Regions from separate parts of the Homo sapiens genome. Here all the other regions are linked to region 1. Evidence: promoter capture Hi-C in 16 types of primary human blood cells and fetal thymus (Javierre and others, 2016). All regions are on one chromosome and are shown on one strand. Each heading gives the region's core, a stretch centred on a gene start or on the middle of the fragment in contact. The rest is flanking DNA. Distances are from core to core; before and after follow the strand shown. Region 1 holds the start of PPL (periplakin). Region 2 holds the start of SEPTIN12 (septin 12). Region 3 overlaps ANKS3 (ankyrin repeat and sterile alpha motif domain containing 3).

Region 1 (4,080 bases), core at 290-2,789:
TGCCTCTGAGCTTGAAAGAGCCCAAACGGAGATACGGGTGGGTGGGATCACAGGGCAGGGGGGTTTCTGAAAGGGCTGGAAGGCCCCGGAATGGAGTGTCGCACTCCAGCGTGCTAGGGCCCCGCCGCCTGCACCTGTCCGACTGGTCGGCCTAGGCCGGACTGCAGGGGTTGAGTGGGAGCCCTGGGCCCAGAGGCCTCTCCTTGCCTAGGGAAGAAGTGAGGAGCTGCTTGAGGGCACAGTGGGGGCTCCCAGTGAGAGCAGCTTGGGGGCAGAACTCCCAGACAGGAGAGCCATGTAATGTGCGGGCCCCTCACCTGCCTGAAGCCTCTTGTCCGAGAAGCTGGCAAAATGGTCCTTGCTAGCCCAGAGCCCCCACTCTATTTTCCGAAGTGGGGATATAAGGCAGGGGCTGGATTCCCACCCCCTCCGTCAATCTCAGCATCTCCACCAGGCTCCCCTAAACCGGTTATTAAGTGAACACATTAGGCTTATCAAAAGGGACGTGGGCTGCTTCTCCCTGCAAACACATCAAGACATGCCATTCCCCTCCCAGGCCGCCCTGGGAACCCGCGGCTCAGAGACGCCGCCAGTTTCGGGGCTGGGGTGGGGGCAGGGAGCCACACCCCTGCGAAACCGAGCTTCGAAGAGGAGGCCCCGAAGCCGCCCAACCTCCGCTCAGAACCCAGAGGGTGGGGAGGTAAGGGGGTGCCTCCCCCTGTGCCCCTCGACCCGACCCCACACCCCCCAGGGCCTCCGGGCGCGGCTCTGGCGCGCAGGGTGGCAGGTGCCGGGAAGTGCAGCGGCGGGTGGCCCGCCCCCTCCGGACACCCATCCCTCGCCTCCCCGACGCCAGGAACACTTGCGCGGTCTCAGAGGCGCTGGAGAGCGCCCCCCGACGCCAGCTCAGTTTCCCTGCCTCAGGGCGCCCCCTGGACGGAGCTTCCTGGGTCGCCCGCAGCGACCCCGCCTTGAGTGCCCGGTCCTCCAAAAACTCCGCCCCCTCATCCAGGTGACTATTCCCGGTCCTGTGCGACCCTCTGCGCAAGAGCGACCCTGGGACACGGGGGTGCCCTGTACCCCCAGCTCAGCTGCCCGTGCCCTAGGCCCTCAAGGCAATGCTCCCTGGGCTCCCGGAGTCCCCTGTGTTATGCTCCCCCTCGGGGACCCCAGCCAGTCCCTTCCCACCTGGCGGCGCTTCCCAGCTTCAGGGTGGCCTCGGTCCCGCGTTCCCGAGAGTCCCGCACTCCGGGTTCAGTTCCCGGTTCCTGGACCCCCGTACCCCCCATTCCTACACTGCCCGGGAGGTCTTCCAGGTCCTGTGCGCCCACAGGGGCAAGAGCGTCCCGGAGCGGAGCTGTGGGCGCCTCCTCACCTCCGGGTCTGCACAGTGGGGCTGTATTTGCCTTTGTTTCTCTTCCTGAAGAGCGAGTTCATGGTGGCGCTCGGGGTGCGGGCGGCGGCGGCTGGCGGGCCGGGCGCGCACCGAGGGGCGGGCGGGAGCGCAGGTGAGCGAGCGGCGGCGCGGGGAGCCCGGACTGCGGCGCGGCAGTGGCTCCGGGTCCCTACTCGCTGGGGGCGGGGCGCCCGCCGGCCACTGGCTCTGCGGGCCGCTCCCCGAGAAGGTGGTGCTTACCTTCCCGAGGAGGGGCCACCGCGCGGGCGGGGCTTGGACGCGGGGGTGGGGACACTGGGTCTTGGCCGGACGCCGCCCACCCCCAGCCGGGGGACTCCGGAGGCCGGGCAGGCACTGGGGCGCAAAGGCCGCCGGGGCGAGCGCTCGCAGCCCCACCCTCCTCGGGCCCGGCGCGCCTCTGGCCGAGGCCTTCACCTGGTTCTGCGCTACCGCGGAACTCGGCGCTCCTGGTGCTTTGGCGGACACCCAGCTGGGCCCCGCAAGACAGGTGCGGCAGAGACCCGCACGGATTCATGTGCCCTAGTAGCTAGCGAATTGCACTCAGATGGTGGCAATTGAGGGAAGGGGGCTGAACTGCCGAGGGCGCCGGCCTGAGTTCAAGCCCTGCCACCCCCAGGTTGGCTGACACTCCTGGGCAAGGTGTTTTACTGCTCCCAGCCACAGTTTACTTCTTTGTCAAACGGTGATAACCACCACCCCATCCGAAAGGCCTGTGGGGATGTCCCTGCAGGTAATGCACGCAAAGCGCTGAGCGCAGTGCCCTGGCCTGAATCTGCTCTCCGCTTGCCATCTCGGGTGGACAAAAACTCCTTTGAAACTTCAATAACTCCAGGCCCTGGCACTAGAAGAGCGCTTCATAGCTGGTCATAAAAGCTGCTCGATTGCGGCTCAGAACAACGACGTTGCACAATTCTGCCAGCATGTCCTGGCCCAGACTGTGTGCCAGTGGAGGAGGCTGCCCTTAGACAGAAACCTAATCTGACCTGAAGCCCGGATGGCACACACCACCACACCTGGCTAATTTTTAAAAATTTTTGTAGAGGCAGAGTTTCACCATGTTGCCCAGGCTGGTCTTGAACTCCTGTGCTCAAGTGATCTGCCGGCCTACAGCCTCCCAAAGTGCTGGGATTACAGATATTAGCCACCGTGCCCAGCCAACCTTATTCTTAATGGGGCTTCTATGGGTGGGCTTAACCCATTTATGCCTGAGGTTGCAATTTTTTGAATTGATAAATCATACCTTGGCAGTGACCTTGAGCAGTAGGAGATAACTCCCACAGGCGTCACGTTCCAATAATGGACCACTAGGCGTAAATAGAGGTGTGATTCCTCCTAAAGTTGTGCCTGCCTGCCTGCCTTCCTTCTTTCCTTCCTCTCTCTTTCCTTTCTTGCTTTCTTGCTTTCTTTCTTCTTTCTTCTTTGAGACTCAGTTGCCCAGGCTGGAGTGCATTGGCACAATCATAGCTCACTGCAGCCTTGACTTTTGGGGCTCAAGCAATCCTCCCACCTCAGCTTCCCGAGTAGCTGGATCCACAGGTGTCCACCACCACGCCTGGCTAATTTTTAAAACCTTTATATTTATATATGTTTTTTGTAGAGATGGGGTCTCGCTGTGTTGCCCAAGCTGGTCTTGAATTCCTGGGCTCAAGCAGTCCTCCCACCTTGGCCTCCCAAAGTGCTGGGATTTCAGGTGTGAGCCACTGCACCCAGCCCTAAAGTTGCTTTCAAAATGTGTGTGTCCAAATGTGCATTTTTCTGGGGGAGGATGTATTGCTCAGTGGAGTCATTTACTCATTCAACACATGTTTCCCATCACTCTCACAGCCTCAGTGTGCCTGGCTCTGCTTGTTGTACACGGATGAGAAAAGGGAAAAGAACAACACAAAAGGGGCTTTCTCTTTGGGAGCTTTCAGGTCCCGGGGCAGGGGACACATATTAAAAATGTTAACTTGGATGGGCGCGGTGGCTCACTCCTGTAATCCCAGTACTTTGAGAGGTCGAGGCAGGGGGATCACCTGAGGTCAGGAGTTCAAGACCAGCCTGACCAACATGGTGAAACCCCGTCTCTCCTAAAAATAAAAAATTAGCTGGGCGTGGTGGCGCCTGCCTGTAGTCCCAGCTACTTGGGAAGCTGAGGCAGGAGAATCTCTTGAAACTGGGAAGGGGAGGTTGCAGTGAGCTCATATCACGCCACTGCACTCCAGCCTGGGAGGTCACAGTGAGCTGAGATCGTGCCACTGCACTCCAGCCTGGGCGACAGAGTGAGACTTCGTCAAAAAACAAAAACAAAAACAAAAACACGTTAACTTTTCTTTTTCTTTCTTTTTTTTTGGAGATAGGGTCTTGCTGTGTTGCTCCGGCTGGAGTGCAGTGGCGTGATCATGGCTCACTGCAGCCTTCCTTGACCTCCCAGACGGAAGCCGTTGTCTCTTCTCAGCCTCCCTCTCAAGTAGCTGGGACCACAGGTGTGCACCACCATGCCTGGCTAATTTTTTTTAAATTAATTAATTATTATTTTTTTTTTGACAGTCTGGCTCTTGTCGCCCAGGCTGGAGTGCAATGACACACTCTCGGCTCACTGCAACCTCTGCCTCCTGGATTCAAGCAACTCTCCTGCTGCCACCACGCCCTGCTAATTTTTGTATTTTTAGTAGAGACAGAGT
Region 2 (4,263 bases), core at 1,026-3,525, 150 kb before region 1:
TGTTCACCATCGTGGACTTGCCCAGCCCGCTTTGCCCTGGGAGTGGCAACCGGATGACAGCAGTTAGGGTGGGCGTTTTAGGCAGTTTTTCTCTAACTCTTTACTTTTCTATTTTATTTTTGGAGACAGGTTCTCACTCTGTCACCCAGGCTGGAGTGCAATGATGCAATCCCCGTTCACTGCAGCCTCGACCTTCCCAGACTCTAGTGATTCTCGCACCTCGGCCTCCCTAGTAGCTGGGACTGTAGGCACACGCCACCATACCCAGCTGATTTTTGCACTGCTTTTTTTTTTTTTTTTTTTGAGACGCAGTCTCGCTCTGTCACCCAGGCTGGAGCGCGATGGTGGGATCTCGGTTCACTGCAAGCTCCGCCTCCCAGATTCACGCCATTCCCCTGTCTCAGCCTCCCAAGTAGCTGGGACTACAGGCGCCCGCCACCACGCCTGGCTAATTTTTTTGTATTTTTAGTAGAGACGGGGTTTCACCATGTTAGCCAGGATGGTCTTGATTTCCTGACCTCATGATCCGCCTGCCTCAGCCTCCCAAAGTGCTGGGATTACAGGCGTGAGCCACCACACCCGGCCTTGCACTGTTTTTTAATTTTTAAGACAGGGTCTCAATCTGTCACCCAGACTCAAGTGATCGCAGCTCACTGCAACCTCCACCCTCAGGTTCAAACGATCCTCCCACCTCAGCCCCCCAAGTAGCTGGGATTCAGGTGCATGTCACCATGCCTGGCTAATTTTTAAATTTTTTTTGTAGAGATGGGGTCTTGCTGTGTTGCCTAGGCTGGTCATGAACTCCTGGCCTCCAGGGATCCTTCTGCTTCAGTCTTGCTCTGTCACCCAGGCTGGAGTACAGTGGCGCAATCTCGGCTCACTACAACATCTGCCTCCCAGGTTCAAGCAATTCTCCTGCCTTAGCCTCCTAAGTAGCTCCTAAGTACAGGCGCCCACCACCACGCCTGGCAAATTTTTGTATTTTTAGTAGAGACGGAGTTTCCCCATGTTGGCCAGGCTGTTTTCGAACTCCTGACCTCAAGTGACCCTCCTGCCTTGGCCTTTCAAAGTGCTGGAATTACAGGCTTGAGCCACCATGCCCGGCCTCATTTTTGTACTTTTTGTAGACATTAGGTTTTGCTAGTCTCAAACTCCTGAGCTCAAGTGATCCACCCACCTCAGTCTCCCAAAACCCTGGATTATAGGTGTGAGCCACCGCTCCAGGCACATTTTTGTCTTTTAATGACTCAGCATTTCTCAAATTTTCAATGACAACATCCCTGTGAGGTGCTATTATCAGGCCCACCTAAGAGATGGGGAGGGGCGACAGGCTGCCAAAGGTGAGGCCACACGCCCAGGCACGCGTAGCACTGTGGGTCTGTCCTGCCGTGGGCCCTACCTCTCACTCACCCACCACCATGATGTTGAACTCAAACCCCATCTTCATAGCCTTGATCTTCAGCTGGTCCAGCACAGCCTCAATGCCCACAGGACCAAGCATCTCGCAGGGTGGGGTGCTGGGGCTGGAGGGCTGCGAGGACAGGCAGGGAGAGGGGGAGCGCCTCAGGGGGTCCATGGGGGCCAAGGGTTCGAGATGCCTGTCACCAGGTGGGTGGGGAGAAGGGGGTCACTGGGGCTCAGAGGAGCCCACATTGACCTCTCCTATCTGAACCCCTATTTGAGCTTGGCCGTTGGCCAACCCCCTCCACACTTCATGCCTCTGGTGTACCCTAAGTGCCTGTAGTCCCAGGGGTGTGGCAAGGGTGCCTGTGGGGAGCTGTTTCTGCAGGGTGCCTCAACACCCATCCAGAGAGGCTCCGCTGCCCAAGGGTCTGCCCTGTCCCCACCTACAGCCCAGGCAGGGGCCTCTCAGGTCGCTTCCCCCAGCAGAGCCTGGAGGGCCAGGCAAAGTCCAGGATGGGTGTTTGCAGCCAGGCTGGAGTCCTGGAGGGGCTTCAGGGAGTGTGTATGGGGTGAAGTGGCTCCCGTCCCAGCAGGAAACTTGGGCAGGGGGCTCAGGAGGAGGTGCCCCCACTTTCCCCAGGGGGACACACAGCAGAGTTGATAGAGAGCGAGAAAGACGGCACAGGCATGAAGGTGACGGAGACAGAGAGAGAGAGACCAAGGTCAGGCAGGGAAGATGGCTGGGAGGGAGCGGTGCGAAGAGCCCACGGGGGGCAGAGAGAGAGAGAAGCAGCCTGCTGTGACACCTGGTGGACGTGGGTCCTGGTGGAGCTTCCAGGAGCTGCCTTGTCCTGGCAGGGCCTGGTGTGTGTGATGGGGGAGGGGAGAGGGTGACAGTTAACCGAAGAATCTGAGCTCCATCTGCACTTGCTGTGACCCCCACCTGGAGGCTTCTCTGCAGCAGGAGCAGGAGCTGTTACCCTTCTAATCCCCACAATGACCCCAGCCTAATAATACAATAATCCCCAAGTAGAACCAGGGGCCCAAGGCCCCCTCGTCAGCTGGGCTCCCACCTCCAAGCTGACGCCCTCAACCACTCTGCTGGGGTGAGCAAACCCAGGCCCCACAGCTGGCTAGCGGGATATCCGTGTCCACGATTGGCGCCATGTGTTTTAAGTTGCAGCGTCAAAAACATGAAGAGATTGCTTTAGCAAATATTTACCCAGTCCTGACTCTGCACATGGCATCGTTCTAGGAGCCCAAAGATGTTAACTTGTTTAATAATCAAGCCCTGTGAAGTAAGTGCTGTTACTACCCCAAGCTGATAGATAAGAGAGGGTCAGGTGAGGAGGTGGCAGAGTCTCTGCCGCTCTGAGTCTGTGTGCTCACCCTCTACTGCCTTTTTCTGGTTTACAGAAACATCTAGATTTCCGGTGTATCTTAGAGGTTATCACCCTGACTTGAGATGCCCTCTTTAAATAGGCCATGTGCTTTCCAGACTGTGGTCCTCACCCCTGCCTTACTGTCTCTCTGATAAGCTGTTTCTTTTTTTGTTGTTTGTTTTTGAGACAGCCTCGCTCTGTTGCCCTTGCTGGAATGCAGTGGCGCGATCTCGGCTCACTGCAACCTCCGCCTCCTGGGTTCAAGCAATTCTCTTGCCTCAGCCTCCCAAGTAGCTGGATTACCGGTGTGCACCACCACGCTAATTTTGTATTTTTAGTAGAGAAGGGGTTTCACCACATTGGTCAGGCTAGTCACAAGCTTCTGACCTCAAGTGATCCACCAACCCTGGTCTCCCAAAGTGTTGGGATTAGTGAGCCACCATGCCTGGCCTTTTTTTTTCTTTTTTCCTTTTTTTCTTTTTTTTTTTGAGACGGAGTCTCGCTCTGTCACCCAGGCTGGAGTTTAGTGGCATGATCTCGGCTCACTGTAAGCTCTGCCTCCCGGGTTCACGCCGCTCTCCTGCCTCAGCCTCCCGAGTAGCTGGGACTACAGGCGCCTGCCACCACGCCCGGCTAATTTTTTCCTATTTTTAGTAGAGACTGGTTTTCCCTGTGTTAGCCAGGATGGTCTCGATCTCCTGATCTCGTGATCTGCCCTCCTCGGCCTCCCAAAGTGCTGGGATTACAGGCGTTAGCCCCTGCGCCCAGCCCTTTTTAAAATTTTTTTGAGACACGGTCTCACTATGTTGCCCATGCTGGTCTCAAACTCCTGGGTTCTAGTGATCCTCTCACCTCAGCCTCCCTAAATGCTGAGATTACAGACGTGAACCACCATGCCCAGCCTGATAAGCTGTTTCTTATACCAAGTCCATCTCACACAGTTAATTCTTTCTTGTTTCCTGGTACTTGACTTCACAAGGCTTAGGCATTCCTGTGTCCTTGCTATTGGCAAATGTTTTCTCTTTCTTTTTTCTTTCTTTTCTCCTTTCTTTTCTTTCTTTTTTTTTTTTCTTTTTTGGGACAGGGTCTCACTTTGTCACCCAAGTTGGAGTGCAGAGGCACAATGACAGCTCACTGCAGCCTCGACTTCCTGGGTTCAAGTGATCCTCCTGCCCCAGCCTCCCTAGTAGCTGGGACTTCAGGTACGTAGACCATGCTGGGCTAATTTTTTTACTTTTTGTAGAGATGAGGTCTCCCTATGTTGCCCAAGATTGTCTTGAACTCCTGGGGTCAAGGGGTCCAGCTGCCTCAGCCTCCCAAAGCGCCACCACACTCAGGCTGGCAAGTGTTTTCTGTAAAGGGCCAGATGGTCCCTATTTTAGGCTTTGCTGGTCCTAAGTTCTCTGTTGCAACTACTATGCAACTTTTCATTGCAGTGAGAAAGTCGCCACAGACAATAGGTAAACAGATGGGCGTG
Region 3 (4,274 bases), core at 569-3,068, 210 kb before region 1:
GCAGTACTGCATTACTTTGTAGGGCCGAATAATATCCTGCTATACAGATATATATTTTGTTTATCAATTCCTCAGTAGATGGACTTGTGGGTTTTTCTACTTTTTGGCAATTATGAATAATACTGCTATGAATATTTATGTACAAGGTTCTGTGTGGACAGGCTTGCACCTGTGATCCCAGCACTTTGGGAGGCTGAGGTGATCGCTTGAGCTCAGGAATTCAAGACTAGCCTGCACAACATACTGAGACCCCCAACTCTACCAAAAAAAAAAAATTAAATAATTAGCCGGGGCATGGTAGCATGCACCTGTAGTCCCAGCTACTTGGGGGCTGAGGCAGGAGGATCGCTTGAGCCCAGGAGGCTGAAGCTGCAGTGAGCCACGATCTCGCCACTGAACTCCAGCCTGGGATACAGGGCAACACCATGTCTCAAAAAAATAAATTAATAAAATAAAACAGAAATACAACATACAGAAATAACTGCAAATGTATTAAAGCTATGTGTAAAAGGATATTCCCGGAACACTGTTTATAATTGCAAAATGTTAAAAACTAAGTTTCTACTAATAAGAAACTCATTAAATTAACTGAGGCAGATTGTACACGGAATACTGTACAAAGATAAGATGTCTATAAGATGTCTCTAAGTTACAGACTATACGTAGAATCCCACTTTGTTCAAAACACAAAGCAATGTGCACACACTTGCCTACAGACACATCTTTCCACAGCAGAGGAAAAGTCCTAGGGCAGCTCTTTCTCAAACCAAGTGGGCATCAGGGAGGTTGAAAAAGAGAGGAGGATCTCTGCCTTCTTATTCTATATAATTTTTCTAAGTGACAGGATTATGAGTGCTATTTACTTTTAAAATATTTTTCCATAATTTTCAGATAGTATTTTCAAAATTATTACAGGAATAGGTGTCTATTTCTACTCACCACTGTATCCTTAATGCCTAAGCACCACTCAACACCGGGCGTCAATAGATAATGAAAATGTGTTGAATAAATGAATGAAAGTTATTTCTGTGCAAAGGAAAATTCTGTAATAGCTTATACTTCAGTAATATGATTCCTCATTTGCCGTGACTACATTACATGCTAATAATCAGGGTCACTTACGTGATTCAGAAAATACTGCACGATTATCTCATGGCCAGCAGCAGCTGCTTCCATCAAGGGAGTAAATCCACATATCGGCTCCCTGCAAGATGTGGGCCACAGTCAGATGATTGGAAGAGACAAGTTCCGCCAGGCAAAAACTCCCTGCTGAAGATAAACCCTGAGCAGTGCACGAGTCACCGATCCCTAAGCGTAGAACACTGTCCCTTTCCAGAATTAACAGGTGACATGAGAACAGTGAATATAACACATCAGCTCCATTTACTCTTCTGGTGTCTGTCCCCAGGGCTGGTCTTTGTCCTAAAGACAGATGTCTGCCTGTCGTCCCACCTGTTGGCTATTCCCACTGGCTACCTCTGAAATCTCCACCTCAATCATATTCAAAAAGCTGTTCTAATTCCTCACAGAAAGCCAGCATCTCCCATCCATTCATCCAAATCCTGGCTTCAAGTTCAACGTCCTCCATGAACCCACTCTGAAAAGTTCAAGTACTAATGATCTAAGCTATCTTTGCCACGCTTAGCTCCTGAAGCTTGCTTTTCATGCTTGGTTATGCTAACTCGGCACTGTCTTCAGAGGGCTTCCAAATCCCTCCTTGTCTCATGCTGGTTTGGAAGTCAGGAACCATGCATGGGAAATGCTGGTTTTCATCCATCTTAAGACACACAGTGTTCATATTTTAACATCTCTCAAGTCAGAAAACATCTTTAAATCAACAGGCGAGTTGAATGTTAATTAGTAGCATATTTTTTCTTTCTTAGTGGCATACAAAATTATCAGGTGTCTTAGAATGAATGACAGCCAGGGTGGGTGCTGCATTGGTACCCGCTGCGTTTGTTCAAAGGTGATTATTATCATGACAAGCTTTAGACAACAATCCCACTTCCAACTTATAAAACTCATGACTGGTTTTTTGTTTGTTTTTGAGACAGAGTTTTGCTCTTGTTGCTCAGGCTGGAGTGCAGTGGCACGATCTCTCAGTTCACTGCAACCTCTGCCTTCTGGTTTCAAGTGATTCTCCCGCCTCAGACTCCCGAGTAGCTGGGATTACAGGCACCTGCCACCACGCCCAGCTAATTTTTGTATTTTTAGTAGAGACGGGGTTTCACCATGTTGGCCAGACTGGTCTCGAACTCCTGACCTCATGATCTGCCCGCCTTGGCCTCCCAGAGTGCTAGGATTACAGGTGTGAGCCACTGAGCCCGGCCAAAACTCATGACTGTTGTTTTTGTTTTTTTTTTTTTGAGATGGAGTCTTGCTCTGTCACCCAGGCTGGAGTGCAGTGGTGCAATCTCGGCTCACTGCAAGCTCCACCTCCCGGGTTCACACCATTCTCTTGCCTCAGCCTCCCGAGTAGCTGGGACTACAGGCGCCCGTCACCATGCCCAGCTAATTTTTTCGTATTTTTAGTAGAGATGGGGTTTCACCATGTTAGCCAGGATGGTCTCGATCTCCTGACCTCGTGATCTGCCTACCTCGGCCTCCCAAAGAGCTGGGATCACAGGCGTGAGCCACCACGCCCGGCCTCATGACTGTTTCAAAGCATCACCTCACCTCATCCATACAAAAAGCAAGAAAATGGAAGGAATTTGCATGTAATGTATGACATTTAAATGCCATTCAGTATGTTAGGCCCCTGGCATACAATAAAACATGTAATTCTTACAACTGTATGACCCAGGTGGGTTTCAGATAAAGAAAAGGAAGCTGAGAGGGCTTGAAGAGATGCATCTCACAGATGTACGAAAAGGCCTGTGCCTGGAAGGACTCTGGTCCTACCCCTCATCTTGAGCCTCTCGTGCCGAAGCAGGGTGGCCCTAAACTCTGGTTAGCTGCCTCCAGAGCCACCCTCCTTAGAGTCAGATGACACCTAGGCCACTCCTGTGGCCACTAAAGATGTGGCAATCACCTCACGTTGGCATTGGCTCCACTGTCCAAGAGGAACCTGACCATGTGCTGGTGCCCGGCGCTGGTACAGTGGAAGAGGGCTGTCCAGCCCTGGATGTCTTTCATTTCTAGCTCTGCACCTTGCTTCAAGAGAACACAGAACGTGCGTTACGGCCTCATCTCCTCTGCGTGGGGCGGGCGCCCTCCAGGCGGCCATGCTGCAAGAATCAGAAGTGATTACACGAGCACACACGAACACCGTGGCCTGCAGTGGTTCGCATCTCTGTCAGGGTGGCCACGGAGCCCCTCAGGTTTCTGGGCCTGAGTTCCCTCGTAGCTCACCTGGAGAAGAAAGTAGGCGATGCTCTCGTTGCCACAGCTGGAGGCCAGCATCAGTGGAGTCTGCCCTTCTGGGGTCGGCACATTCACACTCACCCCCGCCTCAAGCAGCAGGTGCACGATTGTGTCGTGGCCAATGTAGGAGGCATACATCAGCGGGGTCCAGCCACCACCATTCTTCTTATTCAAATCTAACTCTCTCCTAAACAAACGCAAGATATGCTAGACATGGCCAGCCGCCTCGCATGTGGGGTTCACCAAAGCTGGTGGCGAGGCTAGGCCAGGCGGGATGAGTTGACAGGAAGCAGAAGTTATCTGCCACCCTGGACGTTGTGGGGATTGGAGGCAGGCAGGCAGAAAAATGCTGACAGTTGCTCGTACACTGCCTTGTGAGGCCCTGAGCCTTCGTCTCCTTGCTCTGATTTCGCATCCTCCTAGCCCAAGGCCAGCTATGCTCTTTCACACCACCAGATAGGCAGATGGCACTCAACCAGGGAATATGTGGCAATGTGTGAAGGCATTTTTGGTTCTCACAACTGGGCAGGGAAGGGCTGCTGGAGGCCAAGGCTGCCGCTAAACATCCCACAGTGTCCAGGACAGCCCCCACAGCAAAGAATGATCCAGCCTGGATTGTCAACACAGCCACAGTTGAAAAACCCTGACCACCACAGGCCTGGCATCTACTAGCCCACTGCTGGGTGGAGAGGAGCAGTGAGGAAAGAAGGGACTCCACCGTGGACAAGTCCCACCGCCACTGATTCATCCTTTGTCACCTCACCTTAAAGAAACATTCTTGAAAAATCTGTGACCAAAGAATCCCATCTTTCTCACTGATTGCTGTTAAAATTCTGGCAATGCATTTTCCCATGGGAAAAAACTGTGGGCTTCCTAGCTGCGACTCTGGGGTTGGGACAAGGGAGTCACAT

Evidence for each region. Contacts are between HindIII fragments. The CHiCAGO score rates a contact against its expected background, and 5 or more counts as called.
Region 2: the fragment with the promoter of SEPTIN12 here is called in contact with the fragment with the promoter of PPL in region 1 in 2 of 17 cell types (endothelial precursors and M1 macrophages); the score reaches 6.0 in endothelial precursors.
Region 3: a contact is called between a fragment that was not itself captured here and the fragment with the promoter of PPL in region 1, in 6 of 17 cell types (erythroblasts, endothelial precursors, megakaryocytes and 3 more). The highest score is 8.6, in erythroblasts.

What each region holds. Positions count from the first base shown.
Region 1 is chr16:4,935,609-4,939,688 of GRCh38, forward strand. It overlaps PPL (periplakin), which reads right to left and starts at 1,540. Exons shown (of 22, transcript NM_002705.5): 1 at 1,376-1,540. The coding sequence starts at 1,437. RefSeq lists a silencer at 1,483-1,882. The HindIII fragment of the contact is 7,029 bases long and covers 1-4,080 here.
Region 2 is chr16:4,786,070-4,790,332 of GRCh38, forward strand. It overlaps SEPTIN12 (septin 12), which reads right to left and starts at 2,276. Exons shown (of 10, transcript NM_144605.5): 1 at 2,211-2,276; 2 at 1,411-1,598; 3 at 1-36. The coding sequence starts at 1,576. It also overlaps a transcript of SMIM22 not described here. The HindIII fragment of the contact is 19,587 bases long and covers 1-3,163 here.
Region 3 is chr16:4,723,628-4,727,901 of GRCh38, forward strand. It overlaps ANKS3 (ankyrin repeat and sterile alpha motif domain containing 3), which reads right to left. Exons shown (of 18, transcript NM_133450.4): 4 at 3,352-3,550; 5 at 3,032-3,153; 6 at 1,123-1,204. Among named protein-coding and RNA genes, the nearest start is that of ANKS3, 8.5 kb to the right of the region's middle. The HindIII fragment of the contact is 332 bases long and covers 1,653-1,984 here.